Regions from separate parts of the Homo sapiens genome. Here region 2 is linked to region 1. The links are contacts of gene promoters, found by promoter capture Hi-C in blood cells and fetal thymus (Javierre and others, 2016). All regions are on one chromosome and are shown on one strand. The core of a region is centred on a gene start or on the middle of the fragment in contact, and the rest is flanking DNA. Distances in the headings are between cores, read along the strand shown. Region 1 holds the start of NELL1 (neural EGFL like 1). Region 2 overlaps NELL1 (neural EGFL like 1).

Region 1 (4,273 bases), core at 1,082-3,581:
CCACCTGGAAAACTCCCTAGAAAGCCTTGAAGGTACATCTCTCAAATCCCTGACCACCACTCCTCCCTAGAATTAATTCAAACTGTCTCTCCTCCACATTTCCTTAATACAAACTTATACTCCTACCTCTCCACCACCCCCCCCATCAATCTGTAAAATTAAAATGCCTGCCAGTTTCTATCTAGATTCCCAGCTGAGCTTTAAGTTCCTAGAAGTCAAGGACTGTCATTTCCTCTTTGCATAAGAAATCCTGGCACCCAGCAAGACATCGTTTGTTGAATGAGTAAAGACATGAATGAATCTTCCCCTACAACGAAATTTTTACAAGATTTAAAGGGGATTGGAAGTGGAAAGAGGGAAAATACCTGTTCTTAAAGACCCCTTCCACAAGCAATGAACCCTGAAACACGTTCCATTCCGTGATAAGGGTACTTTGGCGACTTTTCAAAGGAGTAATGAGAACAAAGGATTTAGGCATATTCCGTAGTGATGTGCACTTAGGGATGTGAACTCACTAACGGGTTGCCCCCTCCCTACCTAGCTTCTTCCTGTCTGCGGTTCCTCTGTAAGATGTCCACGAGCACCAGACTCTCGCGCTCAGAGCCAGTAGCCCACGCTCTGCACTAGTCTTGCCTGTCCTGATCTTCCTGGGGTGCGCGCACTCCTTCAGCGTGTCCTGGTTTTAAAAGACTAACCCATCCGGATGGGCCTGAACTCAAGAAGCAACTATTCTAAGCTAGACTGAGCCTTGGCGTCTCCGCAGCCTGGGAAGCTCGGATAGAGGTAAGGAACGGAATGGGAGGTTTCTTTTGTCCCTTGAGAAATCCATATTCAACATTCTTAACCAGACGAAAGCCGCTGCCTGCTCAGTCCTGGGGAAGTGGGAAGGGCCCTCTGAAAGCTCCTAGACGCTAGATCTTCCAGCGGGCTAACTGCCAAAGAGGGGCGCCTGGGCGCAAGCGGAGGGAACTTTTGAGCCAACCAAGTGCAGACGCCCCTTCTTAGCCCTCTCCAGATGAACTTGCTCTTTGGCCTAGAGAGAAGGCCACGCCTCTAAAGAAGGAAATAAGGATGGTAAAGGGGGGAGAATAAAGGGAAAGGGAATGACCACACAGATTCTGGGGTGCAGCGCGTACGGAGGATGGCTGGGTAGGATTGCAAACCTCCGACACTCCCCCCAGTTGACAGGCCCTATTTTTGCCAATTTCCTACATCTCACCCCACCTCACCTCACCCCAGTCTCCCCGCATCTACTACTAGCTCTTTGAAGAAGGCGGCTGCAAGCCAGTCTCCGAACCCCAGGGGACTTTTGGGCAAGGGAGCCGGTGGAAGCAGAAGGAAGAAGATGCGCTGAGAGTCCTCACAACTGCGTCTCCGGAGGCAGAACGAAGTGGGGACTTCAGACAATCAAGCGTCATCCTTGCTCCCCCCTCCCCACACGGAACCCTGCGATTATGGCAAGAGAAAACTGGTTTGAGCTTGAGAAAATTTCCCCAGATTGTCTCCACTGCTCTATTTCCCTCAGATAATTGTTCGCCCAGCCCTTGGGAGCAAAGACAGGCGGAGGAGAATACTCCTGGAGTTCTCCTGGGTAGTCAGGAAGGCACAGGAGGAGATCGCGGGATCCCAGGGTTCTCCCGCAGCTCTCTGCCCTCGCCGCACCGCGCCCTCCCGGGCCCCGGCCGCGCCCGCCAGCCGGAAGCGCTCCCTCTGCGGGTGCGACTCCCGCAGCTACCCCTTCCCAGCCTGGCGGGGGTCGGCGAGAGTGGTTTCCACAGCACCTTACAAGTTCGGGAACTCGGGGCACGCGGGCCCGCCCTGCTGCGGGTTTCGACTCCCTGGGACGGAAAGCCGGTTACTAGCAGCAAGAGGGTGCGCCTACTCGGCCGCGCCCCTCACTCCTGCGCCCCTGAGGCCGGGTCCCCTGAGAAGGGGCACTCAACGGGGACATCTTCAAGCCCGTGAGTCCCTATTTTCACCCTGTCACTCCGAGCAGGGCAAAGAGATCCCAGGAACCGGTCCACGCTACCGCCGTTCCCCAGACCAGCGCAAAGCTCGGCTCCAGGTCTCCCCACGCCGCCGTGGTCTGTGGGCACCCCCATTTCCCGGATCCCTCTAACCGCCACAGTCATGCTTACCTGTCCTGGCAGTGCACACACAGAACCACACAACTAAAATCAAATCCATCGGCATCGCTCTCGAGGGTCCCCGCCTAGCAGGGGGCACCGAAGCTAGGTGGAAGCAAATGAGCCTGGATCCTGAGGCGCGCCTGGCTTGGAGCCGCCAAACTTGCTAGCGGGCGGCGGGGGAGGTGGCTCGGCAGCGCCGGGTGCTGCGCTCGCATATGCGCCCGGGAAGGCAGCCCCGGCCGCCCCGCCCCCAGCCCGCCCCCCACCGCTGGCGCGGCGGCGGCGGCGTGGGGCTCGGGGCCCGGCCCCCCGCTGCGGCTGCGTTCGTCTGGGAGCCCGGGCAGGAGCGCGGGGTTTGGCTACTGTGGCTTGTTGCGCTCCCCACTGGGGGCCGATTCCGTTCGCCTCCTTCGCCCGCAGAACTGCGAGGATCTGGACTGCAGGCGCCGCAGCCGCTATCACCCGGAGCACCGAAGTCGGAGTCCCAGGACCTGCGGCCGAAACGAGAGAGCGGGAGGCGCACGGCGCCCCCACGGCTTCACGCGCTCCAGCCCCTCCGAGCCGCAGTCGCCAATGTTGCCCTCTTTACTTCCGCACCGCGGTGGGGGCTGCCGAAGTTGCCACAGTTCATCCCCGCCGAGTCGAAAAGCCGCCGAGCCCTCGCGGGTGGGTATTTTTCCTCGGGGGAACCCAGACCGAGGCGGCGCCACCGAGCGCGCACGGACCCCCTCGGAAAACAATTACTCGGGATTCGCTCTGTCAACTGGGTGGGGAGGGACCTGAGGGGGATGATGGCTGAGTCCCTGCTCACCGCCTGTACCTTCTGTCTCCTCTCTCCTGTTGAACCCCTATGACTGAGTACTCTCTTTGTGGGTGCAGGAAGAGGGCGCTGAGGTGGGGGTGCAGAAAAGGGGTCCTCGAGGCGGAGCGAGCTGTGGTTGGGGTTTGGGAAGTCTATTTGCAAACCTTCTCATTCTGCAGGGCAGATGCTGCCACATAGGGGTAATTCCTAACCATCTTTTTTTCTTTCTTGCGTGATTTTCTTAATGGTATTATCAAAAGCCCACTCTTCTTTCATAGTCACATTTTGGCCCCATGTGCAATTCCTCCGGGACCTCCACCTTCTTTTCCCTCTCCCACCACAACATTCTCTGGAGAGAAAAGCTGGGCTGGGCTTTGTTTTCTACTTGCCGGCAAGAAGAGAATGGGTCCTCTCCCCTCTATGCGACCCTTTCAGGACCTGACCTTCCCTATGAAGATCCCCCAAATTTAAGACTTCTGTCCCACTTCCTATTTGTCCTACTAACACCTAGGAACGTTATTTATAACTGGATATGTAGAGTCATGAAATCTGAAATGACAGCCTCTGATTTATACCAAATGAACTCCACTTAGCTTGCTCAGTCTTCCCACTCTCTCTGAAGCCCCCGCTCCCCCTCACCAGCAGTACTCCTTTGATATTCACAACAGGGATCCCAGAGGAGTCCAAGGAAACCTCAGAACAGCCGTCCCTCGTTTCCTGGAAACCAATTCCAACGTTTCAGAATCCTCTTCACTAATAAGAACGTGCCCTTCTCACTTGCACCCACTTTCACTTCCTATATCCTTAACCCCTACACAACTTTGACCCCAGGAGCCCCAGTGAAGTTCACCAAATCAGCGCAGCTTATTAAGAGAGAAGGCTTTACTAGCATGCTGTTCTGGTCTCTGCCCTATTTTTCTGGATATTTCTGTGTGCAAGCCACTGTCCCATTTGGCCCTTTATGTTGTGGTCCTTTGGCAGATGAAAAAGAAAGTGAACAAGCAGGTAAATTCCAGCTCAAGAAGTCTACTGCACAATCCAGAAGTTGAGCTGAATGATTAAGAGGTAAACTGATGTCAGCTGACTCCAACTCAGATTCGGCTAAGACCCAAAGGAAATCTGTCTGCCTTGACTCTGTATTTTCACTAACAGAGTCCACGTGTTTTTCCTTCCACCCGGAGCGTGTTGCATTTAAAGCTAACATTAAAATCACACATCTTGAAGAGAATAGGATTTCCCAAGTCTTGTTGGGCCTTGTGGACAAGGACACCATACACCATGTTGTATTATAAGAGCCATTTCCTGTCTCTCCTCTGCAGTCTTTAAGTACACCTCAGCAGGA
Region 2 (4,273 bases), core at 768-3,267, 850 kb before region 1:
TATCTAACACATTTTCTTTATCTAATCACCTGTTGATGCACAGTTAGGTTGATTCCCTATTGTCATTATTGCGAATAGTACTTAAATTAAAAGATGATTGCAGGTTTGTTTGTTTTTTTTTTTTTTGAGACGGAGTCTCTCTCTGTCACCCAGGCTGGAGTGCAGTGGCACCATCTTGGCTCACTGCAAGCTCCGCCTCCCGGGTTCATGCCATTCTCCTGCCTCAGCCTCCCCAGCAGCTGGGACTACAGGCAGGTATCTTTTTGATATAATGGCTTTTTTCCTTTGGGCACAACAGAGTGAAGAGACAGTCTGCAGAATGGAAGAAAATATTTGCAAGCCATGGATCTGACAGGAAACGAATATCCGGAATTTATAAGGAACACAAACAACCCAACAACTAATCAAACAATCTCACTAATAAGTAGGCAAAAGATATGAATATACATTTTTCAAAAGTAGACATATGAATGACCAAAAGTATATGAAAAGATGCTCATGGCTATTAATCATCAGAGAAATTCAAATTAAACCACAAGATATCATTTTACACCAATCAGAATGGCTATTATTAATAAGACAAAAATTAACAAATGTTGGCAAGGATTCAGAGAAAAGGAACACTTATACACTGTTGATGGGAATGTAAATTAGAACAGCCTCTATGAAAAACACTAGAACTAAAAATAAAACTACAATTTGATCCAGCAATTGATATATAATTTTTAATGGCAAAACTTCAAAACACATGAAATGATAATAAAAGAACCAAAAGGAAAAAAATACAAATCTAGAGATTTTAACCTCTATTTCAGCAATTGATACACCAAAAAAAATCACCAATATAGAAGACATGAACAATATTGGCATTTCTTGAACATTATACCCAATCACTGTAGCATAAACAGTTTTTACAAGTGCGTGTGGAATGTTGACCAAGATGGAAAAAATCCTTGTTCATAAAACAATCCCCCCAAAATTCAAAAGCTTGAAATCTTACAGAGTGTGTTTTCTGGTCCCAACAGAATTAAACAGATATCAAATCAAAATACGATATTTAGAAAAGGTACAAATATTTGGAAATTACACCAGTTCCAAAAGCCAATGAATTAAAGAAGAAACTACAAGGAAAATATAAAATATTTAGGACTGAATGATATTATTAAACAACAGGCTACAATCTGTGGGAACCAGTTAAAGCAGTGCCTAGAAACAAATGTGTAGCTGTAATACTTACATTCAAAAGAGAGAAAAGTATAAAGCCATAACTTTAGATCTGTAAGAAACCAGTAAAAGTCAGGTACATAGATTTTTACCCTACATCTGGTCCTACCCCCAGAATAGGGTATGTGAGATAGGATTAGTACCAACATAAGGGTAACCATAGGACTCTATTGAACTGAAAGAAATATTTCTAAATTTGCCCTGAGGCAGGATAGCCAGATGCATTTATTTTTAAATTAGAAACAAATGAGAGACCAAAAAATGTTTCTGCACATCAAAACCAAAGGAAGGAGTCAAGGACAAATGTTGGAGGAGTGGTCAGGGAATACAGATCTGGGAGAATAGAAATTAGGTCAGCATGAGGTAAGGAGCAGGTGCATGGGGAGGGGCCGGGGCTGAGCACTTGAATCTTAAGCGGGTGCTGATGCACCTTTAGACACTGGGCCCTCTGTTGTAAGTGACACCTTAACCCTGCTTACCTCTCCTCTCCCAAAAGAAACATATTGGCTCACAAAATGTACAAGTGTTGGGGCTCTAGACTCTATGGGATCCATGCAACTAAGCAATATTATCAGGATTTAGGCTCCCTCTGTATCTCCACTCTTATCATCATCATATTACCACCCCTATAGGCCAGAACCTCTTCATGTAATGGCCTCCAGATGTTCTAGGCAAACATCATTTTAAATCTGTCAAAGGGAGAGATTCTTATCAATAGTACTGGCACAAATCTAGGATTTGAGCCGCATTCATCTTGATTTGGTTACATGATGAGTCCTGAAGTAGTTACTGGGTTCATGTCTGGTTACCAGCCCACCCCTAGAGCAAGAGGTAAAATCAGCACTACTTGAGATATCTTAAACTGAGAATTTAGAAGGGGTTGTTCCTCAGAAACTATTGGAATGCCCTTACTAGGATAGGAACTGAATTCTGGTGAGACAAAATCCACAGATGTCCCTTAGGCCTCTTTTTATGTCAGTCCTACGGCATATTGTGAGATGGATGTATTGGCGGAAGAAATCATGCTACTTTGACAGCGTGTGTGTTTTCCTTTGGAATGCTCCTCTGTCTAAAGGGCACCTTCCATATCTCTCTTCTCCTATTAGTGCCAGATCAAAGTTGTTGTTGTTGTTGTTTTTCCCAAAGCGATTGATATGGGTATTTATTGTTGTCAAGAAGGTAAATTAAAAAGGTGTCAATGTCATCTTATGAACTATGTATGAAAGATACCTCTGAGGATTCTGGGAAAATAGCAGAGGAGTCAGCACCAGGAATCTCTCTCCCAACCTGGACTATAATTACACTGGCAGAATCTGCCTGATATAACAATTTTAGGACTCTGGAGTCTATTTGAAGGCTTGCAACTTCCAGGGGAAGGCTTCCAGGTACGTTTCAGTCAATTTTAGCCAGTAGAGTGGTAGCGGCTGTACATTCCCCATCCTTCATCCTGGGGGCAGGCACCATACAGATTTTGTCTTTCTGCTCTACCCTGAGTGATACACCTTCCACCTCCCACACATTCACTTTCAATTAGAAGAACCTTGACTTGCTTGCATAAAGAGTATTGCCCTCTTAATCTAAAAAAAAAAACAAAAAACAAAACAAAACAAACAAACAAACAAACAAAAGGAAGCCTATCTCCTAGCCCAAGGGGTAAATCACTGTTGGTCTCAATCAGTGGTTCTCAAACAGTGGTCCTCAGACTAGCACCATTAACATCAGCAGGAAACATATTATAAATGAAAATTATCTGGTCCCACACAACATACTAAATTAGAAATTCTGGGGGTAGAACCCAGTAGTCTGTATTTAAACAAGCTTGCCAGAATCATCTGAGAACTCTACTTTGAGAACCACATATCTATAATAATAATGGAATTTTCATCCTTTTTCCCAGTGATCTGTCTAGATAAGGGCATGTGACCAAGTTCTTGCTAATGAGAAGTAAGGAGAAGTCTGCTGGAGATGGAGTGGCAGTGGGGTTGACTTTCATGGTTAAATGACAGAATTCCTACTATGTTCATTCTGTGTAGTCAGCTGGCTGGAGAACGTGAGGACTAGAGAGATACAGCCTTCTTTAGTTTATGGGAAAAATTCCAATTAAATCACAGAAATACCAAACTAGGCCTTTGATGTCATTGAGCTGCTGAACCAACCCTGGAGCTACATATTGCCAGAATTCATGTCATGAGAGAGAATTAAAGACTTTATTATTAAGTCACAATTACTTGAGATTTCTATTACTTCCAGCCAAAATAAATTCAACCAATGGAATATTTTTATCTCTATTTTACAGCTAAAGGAAACAAGTCTGAAAGATATTAAATAATTTCCATAAGGCAACATATCTAGTTACATGGTATTCTAAGTTTTAGGCTTGCTTTTCTCTGAATACAAAACTTTATGAGGCTACTCTACCTCTCAGTAGATCACACTGTCACTCCCACCAAACTACAAGCCTGGTGGTGGCCAGGGAGCAAAGGGACTACGTTTCACTTCTTCCCTTATGCCATTATATCTAATCCTTAGTTGCTTTATGAACTTAAGAATTCTATTCTGAATGATGCTTTATTTTCCGGCTTAAAAGGAGGAATACAATTTGATTTTTAATTTATTCTTCATGATGTTAAACCTATCCCTTTAAAGACAGGTCCACATTTTTTACTTTGAGTATTCCAATAGTCTGCATTATTCATATTAGAGGTATTTATGCAGACATGATCAATAAGATAATTCACCTCCAAATGAAACAAGGAGGCTTCAGCCCTGAATGAGAACTGAAGAATTTAAGTAAGTCAATCCTTTAGAGAGCTTCACCATATTTCTGTCATCATCTGATTACACCCAGAGAAAAATTCTTTCATGTTGTGTAAAGGGCAGACAAGTAACCATCATAATGAAAAAGTTATTTTGGAAAAAAAAAGCTTTTGTCAAATTCACAAAGTTTTATCATTGTGCTTCTGAAAGGGGGAAAATCAGCACCTTTTTTTTTTTTTCTTCAGTGAGTTGGGGAAGAAATTAAGATGAGAAAATTCAAGAACTCTTAACA

The links. Contacts are between HindIII fragments. The CHiCAGO score rates a contact against its expected background, and 5 or more counts as called.
Region 2: a fragment that was not itself captured here is called in contact with the fragment with the promoter of NELL1 in region 1 in 1 of 17 cell types (M2 macrophages); the score reaches 6.1 in M2 macrophages.

Annotation. Positions count from the first base shown.
Region 1 is chr11:20,667,644-20,671,916 of GRCh38, reverse strand. NELL1 (neural EGFL like 1) reads right to left here and starts at 2,331. Exons shown (of 20, transcript NM_006157.5): 1 at 2,139-2,331. The coding sequence starts at 2,193. The HindIII fragment of the contact is 10,998 bases long and covers 1-4,273 here.
Region 2 is chr11:21,518,087-21,522,359 of GRCh38, reverse strand. The region is part of intron 15 of NELL1 (neural EGFL like 1); the gene reads right to left. Among named protein-coding and RNA genes, the nearest start is that of NELL1-AS1, 260 kb to the right of the region's middle. The HindIII fragment of the contact is 2,055 bases long and covers 990-3,044 here.